2 separate regions of the Homo sapiens genome follow, and region 2 is linked to region 1. The links are contacts of gene promoters, found by promoter capture Hi-C in human tissues and cell types (Jung and others, 2019). All regions are on one chromosome and are shown on one strand. Each heading gives the region's core, a stretch centred on a gene start or on the middle of the fragment in contact. The rest is flanking DNA. Distances are from core to core; before and after follow the strand shown.

The links. Contacts are between HindIII fragments. The study calls those that stand out against the background at their distance.
Region 2: a fragment that was not itself captured here is called in contact with the fragment with the promoter of PLA1A in region 1 in 2 of the 25 tissues and cell types used here (stomach and thymus).

Annotation. Positions count from the first base shown.
Region 1 is chr3:119,592,871-119,600,581 of GRCh38, reverse strand. PLA1A (phospholipase A1 member A) reads right to left here and starts at 2,697. Exons shown (of 11, transcript NM_015900.4): 1 at 2,596-2,697. The coding sequence starts at 2,668. RefSeq lists an enhancer at 1,829-2,018. The HindIII fragment of the contact is 21,246 bases long and covers 1-7,711 here.
Region 2 is chr3:119,455,524-119,463,234 of GRCh38, reverse strand. It overlaps TMEM39A (transmembrane protein 39A), which reads left to right. Exons shown (of 9, transcript NM_018266.3): 2 at 1,087-1,273; 3 at 4,995-5,217. The coding sequence starts at 1,161. Among named protein-coding and RNA genes, the nearest start is that of TMEM39A, 4.2 kb to the left of the region's middle. The HindIII fragment of the contact is 7,294 bases long and covers 1-5,525 here.

The DNA of each region.
Region 1 (7,711 bases), core at 1,448-3,947:
GGCCTGGGTGAGGCTCTGGGGATTCAAGGATGAAGAAGACGCCAGCCATAACTGCCCTTTGGGAGCTCAAAGTCTAGCGGAGAAAGGGAAAATAAGCAGGCCCCACAGCAAATAGGGATGTAAGATCTGTGACCAGGAAACATAGGTACTGAGAGAACACAAAGAAAGACCACCTACCCCAGATGGAGGAAGACTTGTGCATCCACCTGGAGGAGAGGACGCCTGAGCCAGCCTGGAAGCTCAAGGGCCAGGTTGATCAAGGAGCTCAACAATCTAAAGCTCCACAGTCCAAGGAAAAACTAGGTGTGACTGGGGTTGTCATGAAAGATTGTGTGGGTACACAGCCAGGAAAGTGAGTGGAGGCTGAACTTCCAAGAGGCCCATGTGGGTCAGCTACTGCCCTTGTGTGACAGCAGGCACCTGGATACCTCCTGAACCTCCTCCCTCCCGATCATTTGAGCTCTTCCTTTCCTTTACCTTGAGCTCTCTGCATCCGGCATCTTCTTTCTGTCCACCTACTTCATCTAGGCTGTCTGAAGTCAATTACATCCTTTTTCCTTTTCCCTTTGGCATATTTCTATCCCTCCCAGCCACACACACACACACACGCACACACACTTCTATCTCTGCCTATCCATCAACTCACTTAATTTCTGAGACAGCACTACTAAAAGTAAGAATAAGGAACATTAACTTAATAAATATTGTTGCTGTTGACAGTGAAACACTCAGTTAAGGTGGGAAAGGAAGAGAAGCGGATGGGAAATAGAGAATGCCTCACTGGGTAAGTGTGAAAAGAAAGACACCAGAGACAAACAAAGGCAAGAAGACCAGGCAAGGAAATACCCAGGCCCTGCTAACATGTTATTATAAGCCCACTTCCTGCCCAGAGCATCTAGAATGATTCCCACATATGTGGCTGGAACCTGATCAGCTTCTGCGCTGACCCTAACCCTGCTATCTGGTTCAGAATTTCTGAGCTTCTCTTATCTGTGTGACAGAGGCCCCAGGCTTACCGACAGATGAGCTTCCAAAAAGAGTTTGATGCCAATTTGCTATAGTCCTCCCACTCCTCAACCTTCAAATCAGGACAACTAGCAAATGCCTTCCAGCCCCTAAGGAGGCCTGGGGCTCCTGAGCAGGGACAAAGTGGGCCTGCCAAGCCCACTTCTCAGAACGGGACCCACAGCTCTCCTAGGTGATACCTCCCACCTTCTCTCCAAGGTGGCTCATGACAGCCCTGTTCCCTCCACTTCCATCAGCCTAGACAACAATTTGCTAATAATAAAATCACAAAGGAATAAGCAACTGCAAAAGTCAGGCCCTGTGCACAGATGATCCCATTCAGTCCTTACAGCATTCCTATCTGGTAAGGATCATCTCTAGCTACAGGTAAAGAAAGCCACTTCCTCAAGGTCACATAGCTACAAAGAAACAGAGCCAGGATTCCAGTCTGGGTTAGCCCGACCCAGACAGAGCCTATTCCCCATCAGCTCAGCCCATTGCCTCCTCTAAGCATCAATGTCTGCAATATTCACTGGACATCTGCTCTATACAGAGCACAGCACTAACTATGCTAAAAGAGACAGAAGCCTCAAATCCTCACCTTTTAGGGACAACTAATTGAGGTAGGAGAAAGCACATACAGAGCTCAACAGCACCTCTGAAAAACCACCCATGAGTGCAAGGAGAGCATGCAGTCACCCAGTGGAACTTTGTAGCAGGGAGGGGTGCTGAGCAGAAAAAGAATGAGTACAAGGGAGATAGGAATACAGAAGCCCCCTTGAAAGATGCAAAGAACAGAAATCAATCCAAAGGTGATGTGAGCAACCCCAGGCAGAAGCAATGACATATTCTAGAGCCAGGGAATGAGAATTAAATGTCCAGCGGAGAAGACAGAAAAGCAGCCTGCTATTGTGAGTAGAGGGAGGGGATTTTTCTAAGGGTGACCTCACCATAGTGAGAAGGAGTCTTCTGAGAACTTCTGAGAACCCAAAGTAGAGCAGGTTAATTTTCTGTTAGGCAAGAGGGATCAGTGGGTCAGTTCTTTACTGGGGGAAAGGTAAATGCAAATTGGCATCTGAGGGAAGTTTTCCCAGGGGCATCTGAGGTTAGCAGGGACTAGTTCCCATCACCCAGCCAGGATGACAAACCACTTGAGTTAGGTTGCTGGATTAGAAAGGACATCTAACAATCTCAGTGACAAAATCATTATTAGTTTGGAAAACCTAAATTTTAAAATTAAATATATCTTGGAATGGTGGATATTTATGGGGTGAAAAATGAATATCTTAGAATTAACCAAATTTTATTTTCTTACAGTTGGTCCTGGCTTGTGCAAGGTGAGAAAGGGTTTTTTTATGTGGGCTTTAGAAAAATGAGTCGGATAACCAGGGAAAGTTCAGGTTTTGTGACCTGTTTACCATCATTCCGATTATGATAAAAGGGGTTTTTTTCCCCTACTGTTTTAAATTCACCTCAGAAGAGGCAAAAGGCTTTTAGGGGATCTTCCAAAAGTTAGTACTGCATAAGTAGTTGGAGAAATATGATCACTGACTGAAATAAGTTCCTCCCAAGGCCTGAGCCCTGGCTTACCTGAACTTCCAACGCTGAGCCACAAAATGAGGCCCCCCACCCAGAAGCAGCTCTCCCAGGGACCTGGGGGCATCGCTGAGCTGGAAATCTCAGAGCTGGTATGGAGTAATTCCCTAAAGCCAAAGAGATCATATAACCCAGCCTCTCAGAAAACACCCACGTGGATTTCACTAATCATTAACTAGCCTCATGACCTGAAAAGGAAAAATAAATTCTTCTTTATTTATTTAAATGCCAGAGTTTTCGGTTTCTTCTTCTCAATGAAAATAAATACACTTTCTTTTTTGTTAACCAGAGTGCATTGAAACACACTGTCCCTCTTTGAGCCAAACATGATCAGGAAACTATTTCCTGCACCTCTCCCACTTCCCGTGATAGGATGTTAGTAATAACCAAGGCAGAAGTCCTGCATCTCTGGGTGGCCAGAAACCCCTCATTGTGTTGGAATTATCTGTGGACATGTGTGTCTCCCTAGAAGATTCTGAGTGACTTGAGAGCAAAGGCTTTCTCTTTTCATTTTTGAATACCCAGTGCCTAGCACAAGACTGAGATAATACTATATATTAAGTGTCCATTTAAAGGGAAGAAGGGAAGAAAAAGTTTCCTCTGGAGAGTACTATCATTTTGTAGAATCTTGGGGCTAGGAGTCAAGTCCAACTTTGGAGATGTTCAACTTCCTGAATTCACAAAGAAACTGCATATTAGAAAAAGAAAATGACCTGTAGAGATCCCGTTGGTGGAAGTGGCAGAGCCGGGCCTGGAACCAAGATGGTTCCAGCACCATATGGCCTCTCCACCCCAAAGAGTGGCAGAAACCACAAAGAGCTATTTCTAGGCAAGTCAATGGGGCAGAGGCAGAGGGCAGGGCACTTGCCCCCCACTCCCTAAATCATAACACATTGCTGTGAGGTAGACAGCCCACTGGCAGGGCCAGGATCATCTTTTCCAAACAATAACTCTCTGAGGTGAGTATTATCACAGAGAAGTTAAGTAATTTGTACAACAAATTACTTATTTGTATTATAATTGTATACAAATTACTTAACTGTGACAATTACACAGTTAGTAAGCACAGATAAGTACAAATTACTTCTCTGTGATAGAAGTAATTTGTATTAAATACAAACATTTGTGTTTTACACAGCTGGTAGGGCACAGAGAATTTAAGTCATTTGCCTGAGGTCATGCAGAGCTGGGATTTAAAGCGGGATGAGCCAGCCCCAGAATCCATGCTCTGAGCAACGATACTCTACAGCAACAACTCCTGAAGAGGCTCTGGGACCATGTCATCATGGCTGAACGCAGGATACAATTATTTTGGAGGGGCTAGCCCTTACATCCCCTTGTGCACATGATCTCACTGCTCAAGTGCTGCTGCAACCAGGAAGGGGTGTGGCAATAAGTAGTGCACAGCAGAGGTCACTACTGAAAGCTGTCTTGATATTAGAGACCAAGCCAAGTGTATGAGTTCAGGTCCTCGGAGAAGAAGATGCCAAGGTAAGACAAGATATGCAAGAGATTTATCGAGCTAACACCTGTAAAGAATAAGAGGTACTAGAGAAGCCAGGAAGCGCCTTTAGATGGTGGTGAACATCTGATACCTGTGAAAGAGAATGGGCAGGAAAGAGAGGATTACATAGGAAGAGTCTCAGGCTGCAGCACAGTTTCTAGAATATTCTGACCAGGCCAATGGGGACTCCTCAGGCCAAAGTCTTTTGTGACAGCAGATGTGTTTTGTAGAAATGAGCCTGCATTAGCAGCCACATCTTGCTTAGTCATTAGCTGAGGTCAGCCTCAGCACAAAGACAGAGGTAGATTCAGAAGACAGCAGCTGGAGCCATCAGTCAATCATTTTCCCTACAGCAGGAGAACTGAGGGCTGTTTTCCTAGCCACCCACACCGTGGCCAGAGATAGTTAATCCAGGGTGCCCTTGTGCATGGCATGAATACAGCTGACATTGAGAGAGCACTTTCACTTTCTTTCACATCCAACATCTAGCACAGAGCTCTCCAAGCGGGGTCAGAGTGGTCCCTTCCAGAACCCCCTGCCTCACAACCATCCAATTGACTTGGGACAGATTGCTGGATCCACCCCAGACACACAGAATGAGAATCTTTGGAACTGGGCCCAGGACTCTGCAGTTCCAGCAGGCTCCTCGGGTGATCGTACGCATGCTAGAACCACTAGTCTTCTGTTAATACTTACAATAGCCATGTCCATTTCACCAGTGGAGAAACTGAAGCTCAGATAGGCCAGGGGCTAGGGACACTGCTTGAGAGGGCCAAGGCGAAACAAGATATGCAAGAGTTTTATTGGACTAAACCTCGTCCTTCTGAAAAGTGAGATTACATATTTTAGAAGGTGAGGATGAGACCCTCCTACCTGGAGACACTGAGAGAGCCACAATTCATATTCAGTGTATGCTGTCCATCTCCCCCAAGGAGAATGTCAGCCTCAGAAGGGCAGAGTCCTGGCCTGTTTTGCTCACTGAGATATCCCAGTATGTAACACAGTACTTGCTACACAGCCAGTGGTCAATAAGTATTTGCCAGGGGAAGGCATTGTTCAACTGGTAGGGTGTGCTGGTTAGTTCCCACCCCTCTTTTAGAAAGGGGGTCCTACTCACCCATTGTAAGGTGGAGACAGATGGTTTTATTTGCCTAGGATCTGGGTACACAATGAGCAAGGGACCAGGGCATCAATGTTCAAAATTCTGAAATGCAGTGGTGTAATAATGGCTCACCACAGCCTCACTTCTTGAGCTCAAGCAATCCTCCTGCCTCAACCTCCTGAGTAGCTGAGACTATAGGTGCACACTACCACACCCAGCTAATTTTATTTATTTATTTATTTATTTATTTATTTATTTATTTATTTATTTATTTTTGAGACAGGGTCTTGCTCTATCAACCAGGCTGGAGTGTAGTGGTGTAATCTTGGCTCACTGCAGCCTCGACCTCCTGGCCTCAAGTGATCCTCCCACCTCAGTCTCTCAAATAGCTTGGAGTACAGGCACCTGCCACCATGCCTGGCTAATTTTTTAAAATTATTTTGTAGAGATAGAGGTCTCGCTGTATTGCCCACGCTGATCTCAAACTTCTGGTCTCAAGCAATCTTCCCATCTCAACCTCAAAGCATTGAGATTAGAGGTGTGAGCCACCATATCTGGCCTAACATGTATTTTGTAATAGGTCTACACATATATGCTTTTTTAAAAAATACAAAAACATGGTTAAAAATAAATCTCCATCCCTTTCCCCCAAGTTTCCCAATCCTATAGAAATCAGGCATTGTCATGGTTTTCTTGCTTATCCTCCTAAAGATATTCTATCTCATGCTTTTTAGATTTTTACACCCTTCTTTTGACCTACTACTTTTTTTTTTTTTTTTTTTTTTGACAGTGTCTTGCTCTGTCACCCAGGCTGAAGTGCAGCAGTGCAATCATGGCTCACTGCAGTCTTGGCCTCCTGGGCTCAAGTGATTCTCCCACCTTGGCCTCCCAAGTGGCTGGTACAGGCACACACCACCATGGCCATCTAATTTTTCTTTCTTTCTTTCTCTCTTTCTTTCTTTTCTTTTTTTTTTTTTTAAGAGACAGGGTTTCGCCATGTTGCCCAGGCTGGTCTTGAACTCCTGGGCTGAAGTCATCTTCCCACTTTTGCCTCCCAAAGTGCTCAGATTCTACGTGTGAGCCACCACGCCCAGGCTTACGCAAACTCTTTTGAACCTTGAGTTTCACATTAAACAAAATACTTTGGAGCTGCCTCATTCTTCTTTTAAGGTTGCATAGAATTCCATCAGATAGAATGTGTCATGAAATTTTAGTGCTCAACCCAAAATGGCTTGAAGCCCTTATCCTACCTGATTTTCAGAAAGTCCAATCTTGCCAGATTCCAATTTGAGGTGAAGAGCACGATTATGGAGTCTCTCCACTCCTGCTGTCCTGTATGTCCTGCATGTGAACATGGGTACATGCACGTGCGTGCACGCACACACACTTACCTTCTCAGAACAAGTCATAAAATATAAGTGTAGTGCAAGACAGTTTTCAAGGTCTTGGACTGGGCCCGGTTCTTTCAGCTTTCTGGCTTATAGTTCTCAAGAATAACTGTAGAATGTGCTGGGAATCCAACATCCTGGAATCTGTTCCAGTCCCCCGACTACCCCACACCCCCAAACACGATATCCTTCAATGCTTTAGCTCAGTGATTCTTGTTTCCTTTGAATATAAAACCCAGGGTGGGCTGCCTTCCTGGGGGTCCTCAGTTGTGGTACAAGTGGGCATGTGCAGATGAGGATCCGTGTGCCACAGGCAGCTTTCCTAAGCCTTGGGTACTGGCTCACATGAATTTCAGGCTTCTGTTGTCTGCTGCCTAGCTGTAAGTAATAAGCCAGATTCCTGTAACTCATTGCATGCATAGGTGTTCTGTCTCCCAAGACTCAGACAAATCACAGTGAACCTGCTTTTCACACAGTACGGTCTAAAACCTTATGGAGAAAGAACATTTCATGCCTCTAATATGCCAAACCACATTATTTTAACTTTCATTTAAAAACATCTATATTCTGTCTCTGTTTTTCCAGAAAGAATAAGTAGAGACCAGCTTTATATTAGCCCAGACAAAAAGGTCACTTGTGGTTTTGCCAGAACAGAGATGCTGTGTACCCCGCAGGAGATGCCAAGCCTGCAAGTGTTGAGAAGGCTAAAAATTATTTGTAGCTTTAAAATGACAGTTTGATACTAAAATTCAATGGTTTAGTGTTTATTCCCTGAGATCACCTAACTTCAAAGTAAAATTGTGAACCTTAAGGGTTTATCTTTGGGTGTGCATTATGGCAAGGGAGTATTGTGAGAAGGTTGAAGAGAAAGAAAACCCTGTGAGCACCCGGGGTTGTGTCAAAAGTTTCCCAAATGACATAAGAAACTGGCTGGAGGTGGTTGTCTGGGAATATCCCTGGGTCTCTCATTTCATGACAGCTTGGTAAAAAGAAGACACTAGATACACTTTCTAAAAGCTATCAATAATATATAGATAGTATATGTTAACACATCTTTTTCCATTTTTTGTTTAACTGCTTATTATATGCTAGATACTATGCTGTGTAAAAAGTACA
Region 2 (7,711 bases), core at 629-3,128, 140 kb after region 1:
CTCTTAGGGACCAGTCTGTTGAAGTTTGTGGTCTCCTGCAGTCCACCACACCGCATACTCTCACCTCTTCCGTCCCAGTTTTTTCCCTGCACTTTTCTTTCCCTTTGCTTGTTAATGGAGCAAGGACCAGCAGCCCCTGCATCCAGCGGTTTGAATGCTTTGTTTGACTTGGGGTTAGTTTACAGCCGAAGGCTGTTAGGAATAGGGAGCATTTGAAAACACGGGTTTTTTCCAGTGTCATCCTTGGGTTTTAGTTGTATTGTTTAGGAAACATTGGTATCCATGTTGACAGAATCATGATTTTTGCCGTAGAATGATGAAAAGAGCTTTTTTTTTTTTTTCCAGTGAGGATCTTTATCTTTTACTTGCTTCTTAATCTTGCAGTTTCAGTAATTTCTGTATGATTTTACACCAGCTTTTCTGGAGCGGGCATCCCCTTGAAGAGTTTCTTTCAATATTTTAACCCTAACATATAGAGATACCACTCGAACAGTTTTACTTTTAAACTGTTAAAAGAACTACTGGTACCCTTTCATTCCACTTCCTCAGTCCTGACAACCTCTGCAGAACAGGGGACACTCCCCCCCCCCGCCCCCCCCCCTTGAAGAAACACACTCAGAAGAACACACTCAGAAGTTAACTTATCCGGATAAGGTCAGATAATATGTGACCATCTGAGCTCACAAGCCATATCCCTTGATAACAAAACCTAATGTTTTATAAAGTGCCAATTCTTCTATATTTCAAGTAGTTTAAGTGTGAAACATTGAGCTGGAAATGTATAAGGTGTGATGTTTCTTGTAAACTTCTATTTGATTATAATATCTTACAGATGATACAAATCAGTTGACAAAAGACACAAATCATCACTTGCCTAAAGCTGAACAGAGCTTAGATCAGAACTTAGGCTTTTGACCCATTAGAGTCTGAGTAGTCCTTTAATTCGAATAACGTAAGTAGTAGACACTGGGAACATTCGTTTGAAAATCTTATTTTGTAAGGCCTGCTTACTCAGTGTTTGTCGTTGTTTTGTTGCCTACTTTAAAAATAGTCTACTGATGTTTAAATGTTTTTGTTGTCGTTCAGAGTTGAAACTGGTTGACAACCATTAACCTGGGTTGCAACTACAGGTGGCACTGGAAGCAGACTGGTTCCTGGACATGCCCGGTGGAAGGAGGGGCCCTAGTCGGCAACAGCTAAGCCGTTCAGCTTTACCTTCTTTGCAGACTTTGGTTGGTGGAGGCTGTGGCAATGGAACAGGCTTGAGAAACAGGTAAAGAAAAAATAAGGCTATATATAATTTTAATGTCCTTTGATCAGTAAGACTAACATAAAAGTCATCATGTCATTCAGATATTTGCTTATTGAGATTTATTCTTGACACTGTGGTAGAAATCCTGCCCTTCAAGACAAAATTCAGAATTCCAAAATACTTTGGAGGTAAAAAGATGTGAAATGGGGCCCACAAAGTGAAAGCAGTCCCATTCTTTATTTTGGCTGATCATCTAAATTCTTGTTATCCCCTTTTTATCTATTAGAAGAAGGGAGAAGTGAATGAAAATACAAGGTAAGTGTGATGGTTTATCTACTTATAAGCATTCTTTTTTTAGAGGGCAAATTATAAGTCAAATTCCATCAAGGATTTTAAATTGTCAAAAAATTGTTTGGTCTTAATAAATGTTAGCTGTTTTTTAGCTGGGTTAGCCCATGCCATCAGGAGGTTTGATAATGTAGCAGTTCAAAGAGATACTTTTACCTAATGAAGTATTTGCTCAAGATATTTTCTGCCAGCTAATTTCTCCTTCCTCCCTGAAAAAAGTTTTTCTCTTGTCTTGATTTTAATTTTCAGAGCTAGCAATCAGTACTACTGTATTTTCAGGCCTGTCTAATGGTATTTATGCACTTTTGTTTTCTAGGCCTGACCTTTGTCCTTTTTTTTTCCTGACTTTCCAATCCCTCTTCCACCCAATCTTTAAAATTAGTTCTGATCTCATCATTTCAGTGGAGCTCTCCCTGAAATTCCAGTTTGAAGGGATTTTTCCAGTCTCCGATTCTCATACTAATTTTTAATCCGAGTTTTGTTTATGTATGTATACAGAGTAACTAGTTTATGCTAGAGTATTTTTTACTCTGCCGTTCGTTGGATTTCCTTATTTTAAAAATGATGGTACTGTTTGCATCATAGCAGGATGTTGAAATAAATGAAGTAGTAAATTGCAGTAACTTTAAAAAACTTTACTGAATTTTACAAAATTTCTACAAATAAGTATTATTTTATATACTTAAAAATAAGAATGAGAATATGCGAAAATGCTTTTGAAGAAAGGTACTATCTAATATAGGTATTGAGATAAAAGTTGTTTGCTCTTTGAGGTACATGCCTTAATTTTATTAATATATGCTATCAACTTATTGATTCAGTACTTTCAAATTGTGATAGAAAATCTTAGCTGTCCCTAACTAGGATTCTAGCCAACTAAAAAATTCTAACTTTGCCTCCTAACTCTAGCAGTTCTTTGTTCGTTCTCTTTGACTTTGGCTTTGAGGATTCCTCTAGATAATTATGTTCTCTAGATAAAAATGTTCTTAGACTGTCCCATGAAATCCCTCTTCAGTGTCTCAGGGGTTGCTGTAGGAGGGCTTAGAAGGGAAAATGGATCAGGCAAGCCTAACAGTCTAGGCTTGAGTTTTCCTCGTCTTCTTTTAATTAGACTGACTCATTTTCCTATGTGTTTTAAATATTAAGATACTATGTAAAATATCATGAGGAAAGGAAAATAAAGCGTTCTGCTATTAAAAAGAACTGAAAGCCAATGAAAATGTCATTTGTAGATGCTTCTGCTTGCACTTAGAGTCTGCAGATGGTATACTGGGAAGAAGTAGGAACGTTCGGAAAATACCTCGGCTCTTGACTGGGTTTGGTATTCTTTTCTCTGCCTTCACTGTAGCTCTTCTATCCTGGTATTCAAGGTTCCAACCATGGTTGCTTTAATCTGCCTTTCTCTCCTCCTTTAACATATGTTTATTTAGCAATTAACTGGGGGGAGGGAGGGAGTGGGTAGAAAAAAGTATTTTCCAACATTTTAAAATGAAAGAAATAATTGTTTATGGTTTGAAAAGTCACCAAGACTATTATTGAGTGATTATTTGTGACATGTTTACCTAGAGAAATTATTTGGGGAAAAGAAAGCTTTATATTTCTTTCTTGGTGGGAAGCAAGCAGCTGGAATAATTTGTTATAAAAGACCTGGGGACGAGGTATGAAAACATGAAAGAACTAGCGGATAGCTTATAATATAGTTTTAGGAAGGATATATAGAAAGAAGGAGTGTCCAGATGAGGAGAACTCACTTCTGGAGTGTCTATAGAGTATTGGAGGGAAATAGATAATTGCTTCAGTATTACATACTTTTGGATGATACATTTGATTCTGCAAGACAGACATAGGTCAGCTGGAGAGGAGAGAATTTGTCCCTGTTTGGTAGGTGCTTGTGGTCTGATTGGTGAAGTTAAACTCTAGAATGTCAAGGAGCTAGTTTGGTAACACAGTCAAGGTTGAAATTGTAGTTCCTTGTCCTGCTGTCCACCTTTGGGGAGCAGGGATTTGTTCTTGCAACAGTGTATTTAAAGTATTATCCTTTTAAAAAAGGAAGATATATTGTGTATTTCTGGATTTCTTAGAGAGTTCCTGATTGAGGGAGAATCTTATTTGAGAAGAACTATTGTTTTCTTTGCTTATTCCTTGCATATACTTTGTTAATAATATCACCTGAACGTGTCCAAATGACCACTGCTTTCCCTACCTCTTCTATTCCTCTTTATGCCTTTGAATCTTTCTTCTTTCATCCATTTGCTTCCCTAAATTCTGCTGCTTGCTGGCTCCATACCAGTCAGTCTCAGGCCTGCTGTGTTAACCCTTTGCCACACACAAACTTTATATGCAAGGACAAAACACAGGTGTTCAGCATAAACCACATTGTTTGTATAAACAGTTTAGGCACAGTGAGCCACTCTAGTTATTTAGGGAAAGTTTATATCACTGTAGGGAACTGTTTACTAGTCATGGTTCCCAGATGTAAGCCTTGTAAGCAGGCCTTCCTAAGAGTAGCTATGTTGAACACCTGCATTCTTTTTGGGAGTCTAGAATTTTGGTACTGCTAGAAAGAAGGTGCCCATGTGGCCAGCCCCCAATAAAAACCCTGGGCATCAAGTCTCTAATGAGCTTTCCTGGATGAGTAGCACTTCACATGTGTTGTCACAACTCATTGCTAGAGAATTTATATGGGTTCTGAATAGATTCTTAAATCTATTTTTATATTCTTTTTTTGGTTTTGTTTTTGAGATGGAGTTTCACTCTTGTTGCCCAGGCTGTAGTGCAATGGTGCTACCTCAGCTCACCACAACCTCCGCCTCCTAAGTTCAAGCGATTCTCCTGCCTCAGCCTCCCAAGTAGCTGGAATTACAGGTGTCCACCACCATGCCTGGCTAATTTTTGTATTTTTAGTAGGGATGAGATTTCATCATGTTGGCCAGGCTGGTCTTGAACTCCTGACCTCAGGTGTTCCGCCCGCCTCGGCCTCCCAAAGTGCTGGGATTACAGGTGTGAGCCACCACGCCTGGCCAAGAAAAGTTTTAATATGACTCCCAGGTTTCTGATGTGGGCAGCTAACTGAGTGGGCCATGAACTAAGGTCAGGACTATAGGAGGGAAGAACACAGAGATGTCCAGTAGGGAGTTGAATAATGTGTCTATAATTTAGCAGTGAGCTCTATGGAGAGAAATTATAGTCTTCATCATGTAGGAGATAATGGAGGCCATAGCTGCATCTTAGATCACTGACAGAAAGTGTGGAGGGAGAAAAGAGGATCCCAGGATGGAGTCTTGTGGGGAAAGCAGACAGTGAAGGGGTAGATGGAGGAGACAGCAGGAGCCCTTTATGTTCTGTGATACTGGAGGTTATCACCATTTGAGTTAACCATAGTTTTCTCTTTCAGGAATGGTAGTGCTATTGGCCTTCCAGTCCCACCTATCACAGCCTTAATCACCCCAGGTCCTGTTCGTCATTGCCAAATTCCTGACTTGCCTGTGGATGGGAGCCTACTCTTTGAATTCCTTTTTTTCATCTACCTGTTGGTTGCTCTTTTCATTCAGTACATCAACATTTATAAAACAGTGTGGTGGTATCCTTACAATCATCCTGCTTCTTGTACATCACTGGTAAGTCTTACTCAGACTTTAAGTTCTTCATGTTACTTACCCAAGAAACTACCTGGAAAGCCTTTCTGTAGAAATTGTTTTTCTTAATAATTTTTCTTTTAATAAAATGTTTTTCTGCTAGGCCACAGATTACTTTCAGAAATAAAATTTCATGATAAGATGGTTAAATTATAAGTACTACCAGAGGAAGTAAAAATATAAATGAAAATGCAGAAAACATTTAAATAATTTTTTATAATAATATCACGGAAAGGTTTTGGTATTTAGTTTTCTCTACACCATTTTAAATTTGTAAGTATAAGGTGTCAGTGTTACTACATTCTAACAACTCTACCCTTTTAATGGCTGAATTAGGATAGTGGTAGCTTCTGTAACAAATAAACTCTGAGGCAGTTGTCCTGGTTGCCAGGAGTTCTTCAGGGGACCCAGGCTGATGGAGATTCTACTGTCTTCCAACATGTGACCTCCAAGGTGGCTGTGGCCCATCCCTGTCAGCCAGAAGGGGAAAGAGCTTAGGGCAATGTAAAGGACAGTTTCTTATGGGCCAGGCTTACATCATTTCCACACATGTCCACTCCTAATTACAAGAGAAGCTAAATATAGTCCTTTAGCTGGGTACATAGTGAACTTAAATCAAATTGGGAAATTGGGAAGTGAAATTGAGAAATTGGCTGTCTTTGCTGAAGTACATAAAAATATATTGTAGGTTTCTTCTGTTCTCTTTCCATTTATTAAGAGTACCATGATAGGCCGGGCGCGGTGGCTCACGCCTGTAATCCCAGCACTTTGGGAGGCTAATGCGGGCGGATCACGAAGTTAAGAGATCGAGACCATCCTGGCTAACACGGTGAAACCCTGTCTCCATTAAAAATATAAAAAATTAACCGTGTGTGATGGCAGGCGCCTGTAGTCCCAGCTACTTGGGAGGCTGAGGCCGGAGAATGGCATGAACCCGGGAGGTGGAGCTTGCAGTGAGCCGAAATCGAGCCGCTGCACTCCAGCCTGGGCGACAGAGCGAGACTCTGTCTCAAAAAAAAAAAAAAAGAGTACCATGATAGTCTTGATGCAGAGAAGGTTCACCATAGATGGGTATATAAAAAAATATTGGTAAGGCCTGGGCATGGTGGCTTATGCCTATAATCCCAGCACTTTGGGAGGTGAAGGCAGCAGGATTGCTTGAGCCCAGGAATTTGAGACCAGCCTAGGCAACATAGTGAGACCTTGTCTCTACAAAAAATAAACAAAATTAACTGGGCATGGTAGTGCACACTTGTGGTCCTAGTTTCTGGGGAAGCTGAAGTGAGGATTGCCTGAGCCCAGGAGATCAAGACTACAGTGAGCTAAGATTGTGGAAACTGTACTAAGGCTAGTCAGATGACTTGACAGATAGGTTGTTGGCAATGGCAGATTTGCATGAGTGATAGAGATAGGCTCTAGGCGAAAGAAGACTATTGTCTTATATATGTGTTTGGGACTAATAAAGATTAGAAAGCCTCCCTATCATGGTGAACATAGAAAGGAAATGTGGGCCAAAATCCTTAAGATAGTATGGAAAGAGAATAAAAATTTTTGTTTTAAATATTTGTATCATTTGGTTGTTCCTGGTATTAAAAATTTTCTTGCTATATTGACCTCCTGTCTACTTAATATCATGTGATAAGAATGTCAGTTTCTGTGTTGAAAAATTGCAATGATATAGTGCCAAATTTTTTTTTAAGTCTTTTTTTCTTATCTGGATTAAGAGCTTATTGAGTGTAGGAACTGTACTTCATTCATCCTTTTTGGCCATGGTGTTTTAAAAGAAAGAAGTTGGATTGGATGTTCTTTAAGGCCTTTTACAGCTATATAGTTCTATAAATAAATACTCACTATCTTAACAGTGTCAATAACGAACACACATTAAAATATTTAGATTATTTACAAGTATTATCTCATTTGCTCTTTATAAAAATGGGTTGGTACCGTTATATGACTCCCATTTTATATATGAATGTAAGACAAAATGGGTAGGTACCATTATATGACTCCCATTTTATAAATGAATGTAAGACCTATAAACTGGTTCAAAAATCACATAGCGGCATAGTGAGTGCCCAAGTCCAGACCAATCTACTGTGCTTTACTTCCTGTTTTAGTCCTATATTTATTCTGTAAGTGCTTCTTGGGTAGTTCATTATAAAATTTCTACTTGGGTTGACATTTCCCTGGAAACTTCTCATTTGTTGAATTTTCAGTCTCATCGAAGAGTTCTTTGCCCAATCTAACATATCTGACTATAGTTCTTTAGAAAGTCACCTACAAATACTGCCTTGAAACAGGGAGCCAGTGTTCTTGTCATAATCAGGAACCTGCTGTTATAGCTGCTGACTCCAGAATTAATGCTTCCTTTGCTTTGACCCTTACCACCAAAAATGGATGCCTTTTGCTACCTTTCCCCCTAACTTCACTCACTTCTATTCAAGTTTTATATGATGCCTGTGGTTGACAGAACCTA